Linked DNA regions of Homo sapiens: regions 1, 2 and 4 are each linked to region 3. Evidence: promoter capture Hi-C in 16 types of primary human blood cells and fetal thymus (Javierre and others, 2016). All regions are on one chromosome and are shown on one strand. The core of a region is centred on a gene start or on the middle of the fragment in contact, and the rest is flanking DNA. Distances in the headings are between cores, read along the strand shown.

Region 1 (4,895 bases), core at 1,830-4,329, 3.9 Mb before region 3:
GGGAGGCGGAGCTTGCAGTGAGCCAAGATAGCGCCACTGCACTACGGCCTGGGCGAAAGAGCGAGACTCCGTCCAAAAAAAAAAAGACAGTGTCAGGGGACAGAATATATACATATGTATAGCTATAAATAAATGTATTTGTATTATACAGAAATACATATACAAGTACGCTTATTTGTCCCTATTACCCCAATCACCCTAGATTCCCGATTGTCCCTCCCAACATTTCATTCCTGCCTTGCTTAGCGTATCAGGTGAGTCTTTCTATTTTTTCACTTACCAACAGCTACTGTATATCTACCATGTGTATCTTCATATATATGCAAAGAGCTATAACATTACAGTTACACTACCTTAACATTACAATTACGACTATGCTTTTCACTGATGCTGAGAAAGTGAGTCACCTCCTGGCATTATGTTTATAGACTAATTTATTCACCACATTAGCCATTCAGACTTCTGAAATATAAATCTTTAAAAAATTTTTAAGAAAAAAACTTTTGGAAGAAAATTTTAATAGATGTTGCTGTTATTTTCTCTTCTGTATAAAAAGCTTCTATTATGTTTATAAACAACATTGTTTAAAAGAAGTATTTAGCTAATACAACGCTTGTTTAAAAGTAGTCTTTAGCGTATCACAATCCTTCAAGTTTTCAGCAAGGTTCCCAACTTAGAAGACATTATTCAAATAATAAAAAGACCTCATCTGCCAAAATCTGTGTAATTCATGGGACTGACTCAAACAATTGTCACAAATCCAATTTCCCTTCCAAGGTTCAGGAGTTGGGGCCTACAATGACGACATCTCATTCCACTCTCAGTGTCACAAAATACATTTCAATAAATATTACCTGCCAGTTATGTATCAACTCCCAGGTTGAGAATACAATAACAACTAACTAGTTCTAGTAAGTATCCTTATTTGTCCTTGTTACCCAAACCGGGTCATTGGCCCCAACACCCTGGACTTCTGACTGTCCCTTCCAACAATTCATTCCTACCTTGCTTAGGGTATCTGACAGGTCTTTTCCATTTATTTGATAAACAACAGCTCCTGTATATCTGTTATATATAAAGCCCTGTGCTAAATATTCTCCATATTCTACACACTTGAAAAATTTCTGTTTGTTACTTTATAGCTGTCTCCAATGGAAGCTGCTCACTGTCTAACTTTCTGAACCCTATCAGACCTAATACTTGTATGCAAAAAACCCTCATGCCATTTATTTGCTTCCACAATTCTCTACCCCTCCTATAGTGGGTGCTGTGGTATGGGGCTCCCAGCTGCAGGGAGCACTGGTAGCGGACAGTTGTCAGCTGAGCTCCTCTCTGGGCATTCCATCATAAGAGAGCTTCCTCACTTAGGTCACGGCACTTCCCTGGACCAGCCCATATTCAATGCCTGGTTGATGCAGAAGCATAAGACTCAGCCCCCATATTAGGTAGGACAGTGACTGGCCAGCTCAGCTCCAGAAGTCCCCAGAGCAGCAGCTGAGGCCCCAACTGCAAATGCACTTCGGCCTCTCCCTCTGCCCAGTCCTGCTTCCCTCATCCCTCAAGACGTATTCTGAGAGCACTCCCTGATAAACCTTACGCAAATCCCACTTCCCTGGGAAGCCAACCTACAACGGGTGCTACCAGGAGTGGTAAGCAGCTCTCAATTTGGATTTTGGAGCTGGCTTGCCGGCCACTGGCTGGCAATGAGGACCCTGTCCCTGGTGGTAGGGGGGTACTGACAGCACCTGTCATAGAGCTGTAGTGCAGCTGATGCAGCTCTCACCAATGGGGACCTGGGATGGAATGCTGGCGGAAGGGAATGTACTGGCTGATGTGTTATTCTGGGAGTTTAGGAGGAATCAGCAATTTTAAGGACTTATATCAGACGGCTGTGGCTGGGGCCATGGAGAGGGATGGTGAGATGAAGTGTGTAACTAATCACCAGTGAAGGTGAGTGCCAAGGGCAGGAGCCTCCTCCCCGGCAGAACAAGACTCAAATTGCACCCAGAGGATAGAAAATGCGTGGGTGAGGTCTGGGGCGGAAGGGATTCAGGGAGTTTGGCATTTCAAGCCCATGAGACCTCCCACACCAAGGTCAGGGTCCTGATTTGGGAGGAAAGGCAACCTAAAGCTGGGTAGGGGGCCCTTGAGGTCAATGTTGTAAAAAATCTTGAATCCCAATTCTCCTGACCCCTCTAGCCCTGAAGCAGCAGCTCAGTGTCTGGTAAAGGTTGGCACTTCCTCCACCTTGGAAACTGGGCGAGGGGTGGGTGGGGGTTTCTGCCTAGCAAGATACGTGCTGCTCTCAGGAGGGCTCTCCACCTCCCCTCCTGGCCAAGTTACAACACGACTGGGCATGAGAAGGGTGAGAAGAACAATACTCGGAAGGAGCTGGAGGTCCCCCCGGGGGGGGGGGGAACATAGACACCACTGCTTCTTAAGGGTGGTGTGTCAAGGGCACAGAACACAAAACCAGCTGAGAGTTGATCAGCATGGGGCACGCTCCTGTGATGAATTTAGCAACCAGGCAAGCACCCTGGGAACTGATATGCAGCTGGCTAGGTCTGCTCCTGGAAACTTCGAGACAGTGATGGTCCACATTAAGTAAAAGTGACAGAACAGCCATGGCAAACTGGACGAAAGGCTCAACAGCCTCCAAGAATGGGGATGCTACCATAGATATAAGATATAAAGCCCGAAAACCCACCAGCTGACTATGTTCTTAGGAGGGACAGGAGGACACTGTGTACCAAAGCCACAAGGAAGCCACAGTTACATCTTTATAGAGCAGGATGCCCTGACAGAAATGGAGATGAAAGAATTATGAAGCAGAGACCAGGCTGGGGTGTTAAACAGAAGCCAAGGTGGGTGCAACCATCATAACTAATGGCAAGGCTGGAGTGGCAGTCGGGAGTGTCTGACCTACAGAAAGCAACAGAGTTGATGACTAGAACACAGTGTTTCCAAAGGGAAGACACAAGGGCAGCGGACAAGGCTACTTCTGAATTACACAGTCATGAGAAATTAACTACAGATGATTCCTGAGGCTGAAGGCAGCTGCTCTAATGCAAAGTCCTGAACATTGCCCCAGTTTCTGGACCTGAACCAGTTTTCAGACCTGGAACGCATTTACTGAAGGAAAGCGTATGTAACTGACTCCCCCCGTCCTTCACCAAAAGGACCTACAGTTATCAACTTGGACATAGTCTGTGCTGACAGTGATACCCAAGGACCCAAAGAGTCATGATGACCCCCTGACCGCCCTCCATCACCGGATGTAAGAAGCTCACAGGTGGGTCCAGGGACTTACCTGGCAATAATTTCTGTGATTTCCAAATGTATAAATCAAGGGGATGTACTGAGTAACTGGCAACAATAACTCCCACTTTAGTTCCTTTGGAAGTGGGTTAAGAGCCATCGCAGTGGGAAAAGTCAAATGGAAGCCCCTGAAGCTGCCCTTTCGGTGACCAAGATAGGAAATTAAAAATGATATCACATCTATGGGGAATGGCAGAGTATTCTTAGAGACCTTAGATACAGGCATGGCGATCCCCATCACGGTCCCTTGTAATTTACCAGTCTTCCTTTACAAAACACAAATAGGTGCTGGAGAATGACAGTGGTTAACTGCAAACTCAACCAAGTGGCAGCCGGGGTACACATGTAATACCACAAATGGTAACTTTACAGGGGAATGCATTAACACAATCTCATGGTATTGGCCATTGCTTTGAAGAACGCCTTCTATTCAGAAGCAGCAGCAGTAGTCTGTAGTAACATGAAACAGATAATAACAGTGTATGTTTATGATCCTGCCCAGGATTTGCTAATTCTCTCACCCTCTATCATAACAGTCTTAAGGGACTGAAACCTTCTGGACCTGGGCTGTCTAATACAGTAGCCACTTGCCACTCATGGCTATTTCAGTTCAATTTTAAATTAATTAAAATTAAATCAATTCAGTTCTTCAGTCACAAGTTTTAGCAACATTTCAAGTGCTCAAAATAGCTACAAGTGGCCAGGAACTACCCAAATGGACAGCACAGATATAGGACATTTCTATGCAGAAAGTTTTATTTGAATAATGCTGTTCTGGACATTCAGGAGAATATCACATTTGTCTACTATATTTATGCCATCATGTTAGAGCCCATAAGTAACAAGTGGCAAGTGTGTTAGAAGGCTTGGTCAGAGAAGCTGCAAGTGTGAGAGGTGGGTCCAACAAAGATGCAGAGGCTCATCAACACATGAGCCGACCTCGTGGGGCTACACTGGGGCGTGCCAAGACATGCCCTCCCAAGTAAAAGACAATTGTACCCTATACCTCCTACCACAATGCTTCATAGGCCTGTTTGAATTCTGGACGCAGCATATTCCATATTTGGGAATGTTGCTCCCATCAATTCACTCAGCCACAAGGACTGTCACGTCTGAATGGGGTGCAGATGAGGGAAGGGGTCCCTAAGCAGGCCTGGTGTGCAGTGCAAGCATGAGCACTGTTGCCTGAGCCAGATGACCTGATGCACATGCTGTTTGCCACTTCTATGCCTTTCACCTCTGCATACAGGTTGTTCCTTCGTGCTGAACTAGTATGAATGAAAAGCTAGGTTTTTGGCATAGTCAGCAGACTCTAAAACAATTGGTATGATCCAATTTTTTGGGTTAAAAATTATTAAAAGGTATGTGTATGAAAGTGCAAAATGTTAAAAATAGTCATCTTCGTGTGGTATAATCATGGCGGTCTAAATTGCTTTGTCTTTTTTTTTCCTACAAATCACATGCGAAATGAAGACATTAAAAAAAAATCTTAAAATATCTGTGAATACATCTCTGACTTTCCCTGACAACTTACATTCCATCCTCCCTATTTTATGTTTTTCTATTACTGCAGGTAA
Region 2 (4,819 bases), core at 442-2,941, 4.3 Mb before region 3:
CTGTTAATCACTCATCCAGTCAAACCAGGCTAGGCCAGGTTCCAGTTTCTCCTCCCATTCACACTTCTGGGTTACTCCTGTTTCACTTCCCCCCACCTCCCCCGTTACAAAGCCATTAAATGGAACCATTTTTATATGCTCTGGAGAACACCACTAATTAAGGTAAAAGCAGTATGCTGATTTAAGCAAAAGCATTATCCTTTTAAATGACACCTCACTCCCCTCTAAAAATCTAAAGTTCATACGGAGTAACTTTATTTATTTATTTAGAGACAGGTTGTCATTCTGTCACCCAGGCAGGAGTGCATTGCTGTGATTTTGGCTCACTGCAACCTCTGTCTCCCAGGCTCAAATGATCCTCCTGCCTCAGCTTCCCAAGTAGCTGGGACTGCAGGTGCGCACCACCACACCCAGCTAATTTTTGTATTTTTTGTAGAGACGGGGTTTGCTCGTGTTACTCAGGCTGGTCTCGAACTCCTGGACTCAAGCGATCTGTCCGCCTTGGTCTCCCAAAGTGCCGAGGTTACACACATGAGCCACCATGCCTGGCAAGGGAGTAACATGATTTAAATGTTGAGACTAGTGGAGGGCAGGAGAAATTGCTGTGGCACCTGGAACCGTCAGTAGTACACACAAATGAGTCTTCTAGTTCTGAGAATCTCAGTCCCTGTCCCTTGATAATTGAAGGCATATATAACACAAATAACTGAATCACACCTTCATGTCTGATTAAGAACCAATAAAAGAATCTCCAATCTGCCCAAGCTAGAACTTGATCCCTAAGCATAATGTGGACTTCTCTTCCTCCACTCCTGCCTGCAAACATTAGGGACAAGGAAGGTATTGGTAGCAGGCCCCGGGTTCTCCGCCTCTTCCTGCAGTCTATGCTTGGATGATCTACGGAATCTGACCTTGGCAGGCGGTGGGGAGTTTGGTTTGGTGGCCCTGTCTGTGAGGACCAAATATTGTCTCTATTTCACAGATGAGGAAACTGAAGCCAATTGAATAAGACACCTGCCCCAGACCATCAAGCTGGCATGGGAATTTTGTCTCCCCTCAGACGCTTCCTCCTATAGCCTTAAACGCTGCCTCAAATGCTGGCGGGAGCTAGGGACGCTGTCCAGGGCCCTTTGAACCTGGGAGGCTTCTGTCCCGCCACACTCCCCACCCCAGGTCTCCGGGAAAGGGATCCGTTGGAGAAAGGCTGGAGTTCTCAGCAGGCCCCTGGGGAGGGGTGTGGCCTGACCAGCGCTCGGCTCCCCGCAACCCCATCTCCAACCCGGGTCGTTCCACTCGACTCCACCAGGGAGGGCCACGCAGGCTCAGGCCAAGTGCGCCGCCCAGCTTGTCCCTGCGTACCGGGGACGCGCTCGGCGCTGCTGGGACACGAGTGGCCCGGAGGTGCGAGAGGCCCCGGGGCCATGGCCGTCACGGGCCTCCGCCCCCGACCGCGCGCTCGGGAACAGCCCGGACACCATTGTTCCCGCCTGGCTGCGGCCGGGCGCCCCACGCTCCCCCACGAATGAGGCGTGACTCTCGCCGCTGACCCGGGTCCTCCCCGCCCAGCCCGTTCCCAGCTCAGGGCGCCCACCCGGGAAGGAAGGTCCATCAGGAAGACCCACCTGGGAAGGAAGGCCCACTAGGCAAGGCCCTGTTACCAGCAGCAAGCGCGGCGCCGGTTCCGTACCACGTGTCCCGGCCACGACCCCCGGCGCTGGCCCGCCCCGCGGTCGCCCTGGCCACCAACCCCGCCTTGTCCGGAGGGCAGGCATCGCCACGCCCCCGCCACGCCCACCAATCCAGCCACAGGCAGAGGGGTGGTGTCACTCTCTCCCCGCCCCATTTCCGCCCTGAGCCAGGTGCGGAAGGTGACGTCACCTCTCCCAGCTCCATTTCCGTCCCGCCCACCAATCCCGGCCTGGTCCACAAGGCTTTCGCCTCGTCGCCCCTCCCCGACGGTAGACGGGGATGTGGGCGTGGCGAGGGGGCGGAGATTTCGTGGGTTGGGATTCAGGGGAGGCAGGGCACACGGGAGCGCGTGTCCGGAGCTGTGGGCTTGTGCTGTGCTTCCCGGTTGCTCTTGGGTGGGCGGGGGGCCTGGTGCTTCAACGGTGGGGTCCGAGAAGTCGCCTGCAGTGCGGCAATGGAGTCCAAAACTAGGGGGCCCTGACTCCACCCTCTGATCTCCCAGGCTCCGGAGGTCCCACGACGCTCCCATTCCCTTGCGCATCCAGCACTGCACTTTCCGTTGCGTTTCAGTCCCGGCGGAGTCGGGGCACGGACTCCTGCGGGTCACACAAGCTCCAATGAGAGGTCGGTCTGAACTGGATTAGGAAAGCGTTCGCCAGCATCGTTACCAGTAGTGGAAATATTTTAGTATTTGTGTCCCATGACCCTAGGAACTGATGAAGGAAGCAGAGCCAGCACCGTGTTTGAGCGTCTGCGACAGCGCTTTCCTTTTTAATCTTAACAACAATTCTTGGGGGTAAAATTGTTATTCCCTAGTCTGCTCACTTTTCCAATAGAGTGTTCTCAAAAGACTTTCTTTAAACTTGTACCACTACCACATTCTTTAAGGAGTGATGGCTCGGGAGTTATTATTTTTTAAAAATGAATTTAATAGTTGTAAGAGATGTATACGTTCCCACATAAAGTAAAATGTTAAAATTGTCTCCTCCCTTAAAATTTACATGGTTTGTTTCCTCTTTTTATATTTATTTATTTATTTATTTATTTATTTATTTAGAGACAGAGTCTTGCTCTGTTGCCATGCTGGAATGCAGTAGCCCAGTCTCAGCTCACTGCAAGCTCCGCCTCCCAGGTTCAAGCCATTCTGCCTCAGCCTCCCGAGTAGCTGGGACTGCAGGTGCGCACCACCGCACCCAGCTAATTTTTGTATTTTTAGTAGAGACAGGGTTTCACCATATTGGTCAAGATGGTCTCGATTTCTTGACCTACTGATCCACCCGCCTCAGCCTCCTAAAGTGCTGGGATTACAGGCGTGAGCCACCCCGTCCCCCCCATCCCTGCCTCCTCTTTTATTTTTTATTTCTATTCCACATCCCTCATAGAATTTTGTTAAATGTAACATTTTTATACTTAATAGTCTTACTCATATCCTAATCATTTCTCTACAACAGACTATGATAAAAATTTAAATTAATATTTACTTTGCTATAACCAGATGAGATTAGGCATGTTCAGGGTGGTATGGCCATAGACACTTTGCTATAACCAAAAAGCTTTAAGTATTAACATTTTTTCTTCTGGATTAAATTCTCATAATAATTATTGTACATGAATGATAAAAAGAAAAAACTATATTACACATTTTGCAAACATTGCAAAAAGTAAACATTGGTGGAAGATACATCCTTTAATCATATCTACTGGGCTTTTAAATAAATTCGTTCAGGTATCCATAAATGAGATTATTGCTGAAAAGAGGGTTTGGTTAAAAAAAAAAACAAAACACACACACACACACACACACATATGTATATAGCAAAAAGAAGTGATTTAGAGTAGAAGCCATAACACACTACTGTTACCAAAATTTAATAGGCTCAAGGTAAGAATAAATAATGAGCAAAGAAGTAGTTGAGAACTTTAGAGCAATCAGATGCTTCAGTCCAAGTGAAAACATGAAAATGCATTTGCAGTACTCAGTGTTGAAGAAGTTGGTGAACATGTTTCTCCTATGAATCTGAATAAATGTTAAGAAAATACAAAACACAACATTTACCCTTAATATAGAACCCTGTTACCTGGAAATATGTTAATTGTCATTATTCCCCTGGGAACAATGTTAAGTCAGTACCTGATCAGTGTCCTTGATTAAGGAGTTGTCCTCCAGTGATACCATGTGGCATTTCAAATTGTCCCTTTGTCTGGAGCATGCCAGGCTTCAAGAGTTGATGACATACAGCATCAGGAACAATGCCTGGCACTGAGAAGGTGCCTCATGAGTGTTAATTACTCATCCTTGTGCAGGGACCAGGACTCCTAGGAACAGGAGACCCTGGCTGAGGTCAGCAGGTCAGTTGCACCGCCTACATGCTCTAGGAGAGAGCCTCTGGAAAATTTGAGAAGCTGGAGGTTGATGCCCTTTAGAACTCTCTGAGTCCCTAAGTTTCCTTGTGCCCTCAGTCATCTTTCTCAAGACCACTGCCTTACACAGCTGGTAATGCAAGTAGCTGGTATTGGAGCCTGTGTGCTCAGTTCTGATTTTCCAGCAGGTGGCCCTGCAAGTCCATTGCTTCTTAAAGTGTGCATTGCAGGTGGCTCAGTGGCAACAAACCTGAGCTTAAAGAGCTACATAAATGTGTTCCTATTCCTCTCTGATGATTTTGAGGACAACAGGGACATTATGAGAGAAAACAAAGAAGTATGAGGATGAGTGACCACAGGTTAAGTACTTCAGAAAGAGAAAGGCTGTGACTGTTCTCAGAACTTAGGGAATGCAAACATTGTAAAAGTCACTGTTGATAACAGACCCACTCAAAAAACAAAATTATTTCAAAATAAAAAATTAATTTAATATTATGTGATTATTCTAATAAAAATGCTATGGTACAAGAACAACAACAACAACAACAAAACATTAGATCATGCTTCCAATTGCCGAAATTTGTAGTTCTCAGCATGAGATGGAGTTTAGTCTTCAGAATCTGTCATGTCTGTTTAACCAAACTTTTGTTTTTATTTTTTTTTTTTGAGATGGAGTCTCTGTTGCCCAGGGCTGGAGTGCAGTGGCATGATCTCAGCTCACTGCAACTTCTGCTTCCCAAGTTCAAGTGATTCTCCTGCCTCAGCCTCC
Region 3 (4,299 bases), core at 1,483-3,982:
AAAAAAGAACAGCAAAACACACTTAAAGAAGGATGTAGCCCAGGTGCGGTGGCTCACGCCTGTAATTCCAGCATTTTGGGAGGCCGAGGCAGGAGGATCATTTGAGGTCAGGAGTTCGAGACCAACCTGGTCATTGTGGCGAAAACCCATCTCTACTAAACATACAAAAATTAGCTGGGCATAGTGGCTCATGCTTATGATCCCAGCTATGTGGGAGGTGGAGGCAGGAAAATCACTTGAACCCAGGAGGCAGAGGTTGCAGTGAGCGGAGATCACACCACTGCACTCCAGCCTGGGCGACAGAGTGAAGTAACTGGTAAAAAATAATACAGTCAATACACTAGAATATATATGTGTGTTTTTAAATAGTAGAATTAATAAATCAAAGGTTGATTTTTTTTTAGGAAAAATTGCTGAATCAATAGTCTAATAGGAGAATGATAGATTATTTGCTTTGAATGTAATGAATGGGATTTAATTATTTTTGTCTAATTACAGGAGCAATATATGCTCAACAATGAAAATAAAATAAAATGTTTATGTTGACCTTGGGTGCAACATAAGTAAAACCCTTTCATAGTTTGACCCCCATTTTACTTGTAACATGCTTGTTTTAAGTCAATGGATTTTTTATATTTCTTCTACAGTATTATCGCCCCTTACCCCACTGCATCTACAGTCTCTCATCACCTAAGATTGTTCATCTCAGAAACATCATTGACAAGTTATTTCTATTATTTTTCTGTATTGTCATGTGTTTTTTGACCTTGACACTTCAAATCCGTAATTAACACCTTCCTTCCTGGATAACTACAGACACTTCTGAGTTGGTGTAACTGGTTCTGCAGTGCCCACTGTGGTATGCTATCCATCAGGACATGTGGTCTTTGGGTCAAGGAATTCAGCCACTGTTACAATCTTGGCCAGGCAGGCTTAGGCATGGGCTAGTGGAATCTTGGTTTAATATCCGTATCTCTTTCCTCCTACTTTCCAATTTCCTGCTGATGCCTCCTATCGGCGGCAACCAACTGGAAGCCAGAGGGCCAGGCAGCCTGGATAGTGCAGTCTTTTTGCCTGTTCAGGTCAGTTGATGCAGAGCTGGAAGAGCTGGGAGGAACCACTAGAAGGTGGAATGGAGAATATCCAGCATGCTAGCAGCAATCTTGCCCTTCCTCTCTTCTTCCCAGAGATAATATGGCCACCTTGAATTTTGTTCTTTTCCCGAATTTGACACACTCCGTCTGGATTCTTGCCTTTGCAAATACAGGTTTCTCCTGCAGGAATTTCCTTACCCAACTTCTTTGTGTGGCAAACTCCTACTTACTCTTTAAGATCCAACTCAAATATCATCACTCTCCTATTGACACACATGAGGAGGCAGCAAGGCACTCTAAATAGAACAAAGAAACATCAGGTCAGCTCCTCAATCTGTCACTTACTAGTTAATGTGACTTTGTGTGGGGGTACTTTTGTGATTCTAAGTTTCCTCTTTGGCAAAATAGGAATGGGAATACAGTAGGCCTTTGCTGTCCACTGGTTGCACACAGAGAATTCAACACACGGGATGGAAAATATTCGGGAAAAAACCCCACAGTTGAAAATAACAATACAACAATTAAAAAATAATATGAATAAAAGTACAGTGTAACAACTATTTACATAGCATTTACAGTGTATTAGGTATTGTAAGCAATCTAGAGATGATTTAAAGCATATAGGAGGATGTGTGTAGGTTATATGCAAATACTACACCATTTTATAAAAGAGACTTAAGCATGGGTGGATTTGGGTATCTGCGGGGGTCCTGGAACCAATTACCTAGGGATACCGAGGGCCCACTTTACCTGCCTTGACATCCCTTTCCCAGGGAACGTGAAATGATCAGACCGAGAAAATGCAAATCATTTTCCAAATGTAATTTTGTTGTTGTTCTTACCGCTGCTTATAATTAAAAAAAAAATAATTTGCTCAGCTCGATCACTGTGCACGGTGCAAAAAATCAACTTTGGTACCATTCAGCAAATCATACCCCCACGTCCCGCCTTTATTTTCCTTTTTTGCAGCCCGGTTTCTCTCTTCTGCTCACTCATACCCGCCCACCCCGCTTTTGTAGCTTGCTTGTTCATATCTGAACTTGGGTATCCAAAGACACTGCTTGACTTTGCAGGTACATTTCACAGTTAAAGAGGGTTCGTCATTTAGTAGTCGGGGATGGGGAGAACTGTCACAAAGCAAAAGTCTACATTCTAAATCGTGAAGTTCTGGGAGCTGAGAATCAGATTGGCAGGGCCAAGAACGAATCCGTCGACGAGCCGGGAGGCGGGGCTCCTGCTGGGGCCTCTGCAGCCCGCGCTGGGTTCCCGAATTCCCGCGCTGTAAGCCGGAACCCCAGGCCAGCGGGCGCCGCGGCGGGCCCGGAGATCGGTGCAGGACGCACGGCCTAGCCAGAACTACAACTCCCGACGTGCGCGGCGGCCAACGCTGGTTCTATCCCTGCTTGTTGCTTTTTTTTTTCCCTCCGCTTCTTGCGACGGAGACTGCTGTCCAGGAAGTGCGCAGTAGTGATTCTAGAGAGGCTGGAAGCTCTCCTGGCGACGCTGGGGCCGCGAAGGGCTCACGTAATGACTCCTACTCCTGGTGAGCGCAGGCGTTGCGGAACTCACCGTCCCACAGGACGTGTTTCCGGGGGTACATTAATTGTGGCTGGACGCAGTGGCGCGGCAGTTTAATTCTCCGGCGGCTGCAGATTGACGGGACGAGATGGTCCTGGCAGGGCTCATCAGGAAACTCGGTAACTGTCAGCTTGCCCCTCGCCCAAGGCACCCCCCGCGCTCTGGCCACTTGCTGAGAATGGTCGTGTCACGTTTCCGCGGCCGGCCGCTCCGCGACCGCTCCCTCTTTCACCCCCGCTTTGTCAGGATAGCCCCCGGGGACCCATCTCGGACTTTGTGTAAACTTCGCGGTTCGCGTCCCGAAGGCACCAGTGGCCTGCTTCTGAAAAAAACTGGTTTATTCCGTCTTCACGCCGCTCCTGCCCACAGCATAAATAACGTAGTCTCTTTGCAGTCGGGAAATAAAATAGTTTTGTGCCGTTCGTTGACAGGTCATCAGCTGGCCGAGATCAGGGAGCGCGCTCTCAAGAGTATTCTCTGCAAGATTGAGCACAACTTAATCTGCTACGCTGATCTCATTCAGGAGAGGCAACTTTTTCTTCATTTGCTGGAATGGTTCAATTTCCCGTCCGTTCCGATGAAGGAAGAGGTTCTGAACCTGTTAAGCAGATTGGTTAAGGTAGGGTCATTTTGAAATAAAGAAAATAATCAGACGAGTGACTTGTTTCTTAGTCATTTAATTGTAGCGTTTATTGAAAGTTAAATAATTGGGGTTAAAAGTTTTTTTAATCAACCAGAGATGTTTAATTTTAATTAATCTGGGTATATGGTTCATCTTTTATTTGTGATACTGAATCCCACATGGTCTCTGCTGTGCTCAGAAGTAACACAGAACTTCTTTTGAGTTTTGGTATGTTCTGTGTTTTTGAGTTATCTTTGGAGGTTAATATTTGTATTCTGTTTTTGTTTTCTGACATTTACATCTTAAAAACTAGATATGTCAGTATGAAAGGGAGCACTTTAAAAATAATGTTACATAACCGTGATTCATAAATACCAATGTTAAGTTGCTTGCCCATATGCTTTTAGATTGGTATTCTTATGCCTACCTCAAGAGTAGTTAGTTATCGGGGTCAGATATCAAAGTGTAAGTTTAACCTTTCAAAACTAAATCACTGTACAATGGTAGAGGAATCTTAAACTACTTTGACATCCTGTTGACCGGTTGGGGCTGGGACCATAAGGTGAGTGTCAGTGGAAAAAAGTAACCCATTAAAAAAATAAGAGTAGGGATTGATAATGTGCATTTCTAGCGTTCAGTGTGTTGGCTCATCTTTCATAAATGTTATCAAGTGTTGGATGTATGTCTCTATAGGTGTATGTGCTCCTCATGGAAGTGCCTTACTTCGGGGCAGAGCCATGAAGGATTTGTTTTTCAGAAAAGGAACATCTGATATACCAAAAATAATTTTATGTTTTGATTGCTGTAAGTTATAGAGATTTTGATACAGTTATTCTCAAGATCATCCTCTTCTTATTTTAGTATCCCCCAGCAGTCCAACATTTGGTTGACGTTGGTGCAGTAGAGTTCTTATCTAAGCTTCGGTCTAATGTGGAGCCAAATCTGCAGGCTGAAATTGATGGCATTCTGGATGGACTTTTTCTTCTTCCTTCGGAAGTTCCTGCA
Region 4 (4,266 bases), core at 1,035-3,534, 4.4 Mb before region 3:
GTAACTTCCACTGTGCTCCCACATCTCTATTTTAGTAAGCAGAAAAAGGTATTATATATATTTATTTATGTGTCTATTCAACCAGATCTCAAAATCCTCTAGGGAAGTATATTACTATTTCCAACACCTAGAAGGGTGTTTGGCATAAAGCAAGAACCAGTGTTTTTGAAGTGGAGCCACTTTGCTCTGCTTAAAAGGTACCAATGGAACTGTCCTATTGTTTGCAACTTTTCTGTAAATCTTAATTTATTCCGAAATAAAGTTTAAAAAAAAATGCACCAGTAGCAACTGTGTTGTGAGCAATTATCACACCTGCCTTACATGTCACGCAAGAAGAAAGCTTTACCTTGTACCAGTAGCAGTAATTTTGTATATAGCAAAGTGAGTCTCAGTTTGTAAAAAGGGAATAATTCCTACTACACAAGATTGCTGTACTAAATGAAGCACAGTGAGTATGCCAAATGACATATAAGCTCTTCTTAATAAGGTTCTGATGAGTATATGTTAGGGCCCCTGTCTACAGTGTTCTAAATGGACCAGCACTTCACCACAAAACAGATACATACTACGACTAGGATGTCACCAGGCATAGACTGCAAAGCTGTAACTCAAATCACTATTAAGACTGTAATTACTTATAAAAGTATTCTACATGTGTGTCCACGGATGTGGGATGTCCTATTCCAAAACTCCCCAATGAAATAAATGGCTACTCAAAACCCAGCGCAACCGACAGAGGTCAGCGGCCACTGCACCCCGCCTCCACCAGCTTAAACTCCAGAAGGAGGCCAAGCACCCAGGGCGTGCTAGCTGGCTGGAAAGAGGTGAGCATCTACTGAGAAACCCACTGCTGCCCGCAGCGGTGTCAGGCAGCCGCGGGTCTCCCCGCAGTGGCGCAAAGCGAGCTGAAGTCGGGAATGGCTAGGACCCTTCGCTGCCACCGCGGTGCTTTCGGCCACCGCACTTGTGTGCCCTCCGCCCGCCCACACCAGCGTCGCTTAACGGAAGAAGGCGCGAGTAGCAGCGGCGCAGCCAGGGCACCTGGGGGTGACACGAGAGTGGGCGGGCGGTCCAGGGAGCCCCTGCTGGAAACCAGACGCTAAAGCTTGCAGCTGTGCAGCTAGGGGAGCATCTGTTTTCCACTTGAGAGCAACCCGGGCACGCGAGAACGGCCCGATTTCGGTGCAGGGGTGCGTCCCGAAGGAACGGGGGACTGTTTCTGCGCGGACAGGCGAACCCGGCAGGGGAAACCGAGGCCACGCTAGGTCCGCAGCCCCGAGGTGTCCACAAGAGCTCCGCTCGCGCAAGGGCGCGGAGCGAGGCTGCCCGCGGGACCGGCCTGCGGAGCGAGCGGGTGAGAGGGCAGGGCGGCAGCTGGGGCCTGGGGGAGGAGGGCGGCGAGGCAGCGTGAGCGAACGAGCGAGGGTGTGTGTCCGGGCGTGAGTCTGGGCGGGTGTCGGGAAGGAAGGCGACAGGGAGGGGCGGAGGCGGGGGGAGGGGGGAGGAGAAAGAGCGAAGGGCCCAGACGGGGCTCTGGGCGCCCAGCCGCCCGGCTTCGAGCCCTCAAGCCACCGCCCCCAGGCCCCGCGCTGACGCTGGACGGTCCCCGCCTCCAAACCCCCCGCCCCGGCCAGAGAATAACTTACCTGTTTGGCGACGGAATCGCTCCTGCTCGCCCCTCTGACTGACTCCTCCGGCTCACCGTCTTCCCTTTGGGAGGAAGAGGCGGGACATCCTGTTTCTCCGTCGAAGGACTTCCGGTGGCTTCCAAGGCGACTCCGTAGTGGATGCAGCGCCGGACGCCACAGCCGAAAAACAGAATCTTGGAACTGGTTTAGTACAATCCAGGTCGAGTTCCTTGTTTTTTATCCGAGTGGCCGGCAGGCCCATGTGCTGTCTTGTTTTTAACACATCAGCTCTTGCCGGAAGCCGCTAAGAGATAAAATAGGAAGTCCCACCCTTCCCTTAGAGAAGGAAAACGGAGAGCCGAAGGAGTCAATCTAAATTCGATGAGCGCGTCGGGCTCCAAGGCAGGCGCTGTCAGCCCGGGAGGGCTGTCTGGGATTTCTAGAGGGTCCCAGAACGGGTTCTTCCCAGGCCGATCCCGCCTGCTTCCTGCCCCGTCTCTCCACCCGCCTCCCGCCCTCTGTAAGGGACCCCGAGGGCGGCGCCGGAAACACGGAGAAGGCCCAGAACGGCGCGGGACCCGAGAGGCCTACGTTGGCAAACGCAGCCCGCTGCCCCTTTGCTCGCTTCCCCCGGGCCTGGAGTGGCTCCTGTCGCTTCTGGCGCTCCGATTTCGAGAAATGACTTTCAGCTGTGCAAGGCGAGAATGCTACTTTAGATGATGAGAAAAAATCTCTCGAATGGCTCCCAAAATGAGGTCCTTGTTTAAGAGGCCACAGGAAGCCGCTAGCCGAACTCTGATACCAAAGAGGAGGCCAAGAAGCGGACTGTGGCTTGGTGACCTGTTTGGTATTGCCAAATTTTCAGCTTTTATTAAAGCTGAAACACCTTGGCTGTTTAAAACGTTCGACAAGGACTTTTTTATGAACGTTAACGGCACAGCATACGGGTTTTTTGGAAAAAAAAAAAGGCAGGACTTCAGCCCGTCCGCCCCCTTGTGCAGGTCCATTCATGAACCTCGAGTTAGAGGCCTTTCTTCTGAAACTCAGAATCTAGTAGGGAAGACCTGTGTAGACGAATAAAAATAAATACATCACAGCTTGTTAAGTGCTGTGACAAAGAGGCAGTGAAATCCTGCTTGAGGTCATCTGCCTTGCTAAAGAGGTTTGACTATGTTGTAGGCACAGGGTTAGGGTTAGACTCTGTAATGGGAAGTTATGTGATCAGATTTCTGTTTAGGAAGATCACTGGCCAGGCGGGGTGGCTTACGCCTGTAATCCCAATACTTTGGGAGGCCGAGTCGGTGGATTGCTTGAGGCTAGGATTTTGAGACCAGCCTGGGGAAACCGCGTCTCTACTAAAAATTTGAAATTAGCCAGGCATGGTGGTGCGAGCCTGTAATTCCAGCTACTTGGAGGCTGAGGCGGGAGAATAGCTTGAACCCAGTGGCGGAGGCTGCAGTGAGCCGAGATTGCGCCACTGCACTCCAGCCTGGGCGACAGAGCGAGATTCCGTCTCAAAAAAATCATTGTAAGTAATTGGATTTTTGTGTGTGTGTGATGTTCTGAAGATAGGCTTTCTAGGCCAAATCGTCACTCAAGGCCAATTCGAACACAATTCAGTTTAAATCAGAATACATTCGAGTGATAATTCCTTACCTTTTTAAATAGTTCATAGAAAACTTTTTGTAGACATTATCTGGTTTAATTCTGATTGTAATCCACATGAATTCTCTTATCCACAGTAAGGAACAGTAATTTAGAAGACTAATAAACTGTTCCAAGATCACACAGCTAGTAAAAGTGGAACTCAACCTAAAACTCCAGAGTCAAGCTTTTCCATCATGTAGACTCAGTTTAATAGTAATAGTTAATTAAAAATTCTAGAGAAAAATGTGGGAAACAATTTCCTCACAAGTGACCAGCTGCAAATGTTATTTGTATTCCATTAACCAACATTTATTGGGTGCCTGTTATATAAAAGATAAAACTGGGTTCTGCCTTCAAAGAGTTCACTTGAAATTTAAAATTTATGTGAAAATTTAGCACTTCCTACAGTGTTTTAATAGCTATTTCAACAGTGTTGGTGTTGTATGACAAGGTGATAAATTTCTTGACAATAACAATAGCACAATTCTGTATATGGATTGGGCATTCTGTGATCTTTGGGTGATTTATCTTGCTACCTTTCTTACCTTGGGGGTTTAGTTAACACTTATGTTCCTCCCCTGAGCAGTGAAGTAAAATCTAAGTTTATGTTTCAGTTCTATTTTGAGTATTTTGAGTTACTAAGACAGGACCTTAAGGAAGTCAGTTTGACCTCATTTCCAACTGAGAGAGTCCATAGATGTCATTCAAGACTAATTTTCTGATTCTAAGGAAAAAGGGAAGTCTTTTTTTTTCTTCCTCTCTTTATTTTTGAATGAATAATGCTTGACATGGACAACACAGACTTTTAGTGAAGACAGAGAGTCCTAGTGATGAAACCACCTTTGCAAAAATTACAACTGAGAAAATTATGACAGTGAAAGAGATCTGACCTAACCAATTCCATCTTGCTTCTAAACTCTGTCCTTGTTCATTCCTGGGCATAGGCAGAACTAACTCTGGAAGGAACTTAGTTTATAGTGTAACTTTGAAA

Evidence for each region. Contacts are between HindIII fragments. The CHiCAGO score rates a contact against its expected background, and 5 or more counts as called.
Region 1: a fragment that was not itself captured here is called in contact with the fragment with the promoter of RTTN in region 3 in 2 of 17 cell types (naive B cells and total B cells); the score reaches 7.1 in naive B cells.
Region 2: a contact is called between the fragment with the promoter of CNDP2 here and the fragment with the promoter of RTTN in region 3, in 1 of 17 cell types (total B cells). The highest score is 5.4, in total B cells.
Region 4: a contact is called between a fragment that was not itself captured here and the fragment with the promoter of RTTN in region 3, in 2 of 17 cell types (total B cells and naive B cells). The highest score is 13.6, in total B cells.

What each region holds. Positions count from the first base shown.
Region 1 is chr18:74,149,460-74,154,354 of GRCh38, reverse strand. The region is part of intron 1 of TIMM21 (translocase of inner mitochondrial membrane 21); the gene reads right to left. Among named protein-coding and RNA genes, the nearest start is that of TIMM21, 3.4 kb to the right of the region's middle. RefSeq lists an enhancer at 2,639-3,838. The HindIII fragment of the contact is 5,042 bases long and covers 559-4,895 here.
Region 2 is chr18:74,493,235-74,498,053 of GRCh38, reverse strand. It overlaps CNDP2 (carnosine dipeptidase 2), which reads right to left and starts at 1,691. Exons shown (of 12, transcript NM_018235.3): 1 at 1,623-1,691. RefSeq lists enhancers at 583-682, 1,066-1,578, 2,136-2,405 and silencers at 1,176-1,225, 1,356-1,865, 4,277-4,326. The HindIII fragment of the contact is 6,969 bases long and covers 1-3,244 here.
Region 3 is chr18:70,204,120-70,208,418 of GRCh38, reverse strand. RTTN (rotatin) reads left to right here and starts at 2,732. Exons shown (of 49, transcript NM_173630.4): 1 at 2,732-2,791; 2 at 3,104-3,291; 3 at 4,156-4,299. The coding sequence starts at 2,761. It overlaps LOC105372180 (a long non-coding RNA gene), which reads right to left and starts at 2,630. Exons shown (of 3, transcript XR_935599.3): 1 at 1,845-2,630; 2 at 1,325-1,390. RefSeq lists enhancers at 2,333-2,572, 2,035-2,664, 2,583-2,692, 2,903-3,032. The HindIII fragment of the contact is 5,232 bases long and covers 1-4,214 here.
Region 4 is chr18:74,595,318-74,599,583 of GRCh38, reverse strand. It overlaps ZNF407 (zinc finger protein 407), which reads right to left and starts at 1,714. Exons shown (of 9, transcript NM_017757.3): 1 at 1,647-1,714. ZNF407-AS1 (ZNF407 antisense RNA 1) reads left to right here and starts at 1,749. Exons shown (of 2, transcript NR_024484.1): 1 at 1,749-3,156. RefSeq lists enhancers at 719-938, 1,729-1,938 and a silencer at 1,329-1,628. The HindIII fragment of the contact is 2,354 bases long and covers 1,108-3,461 here.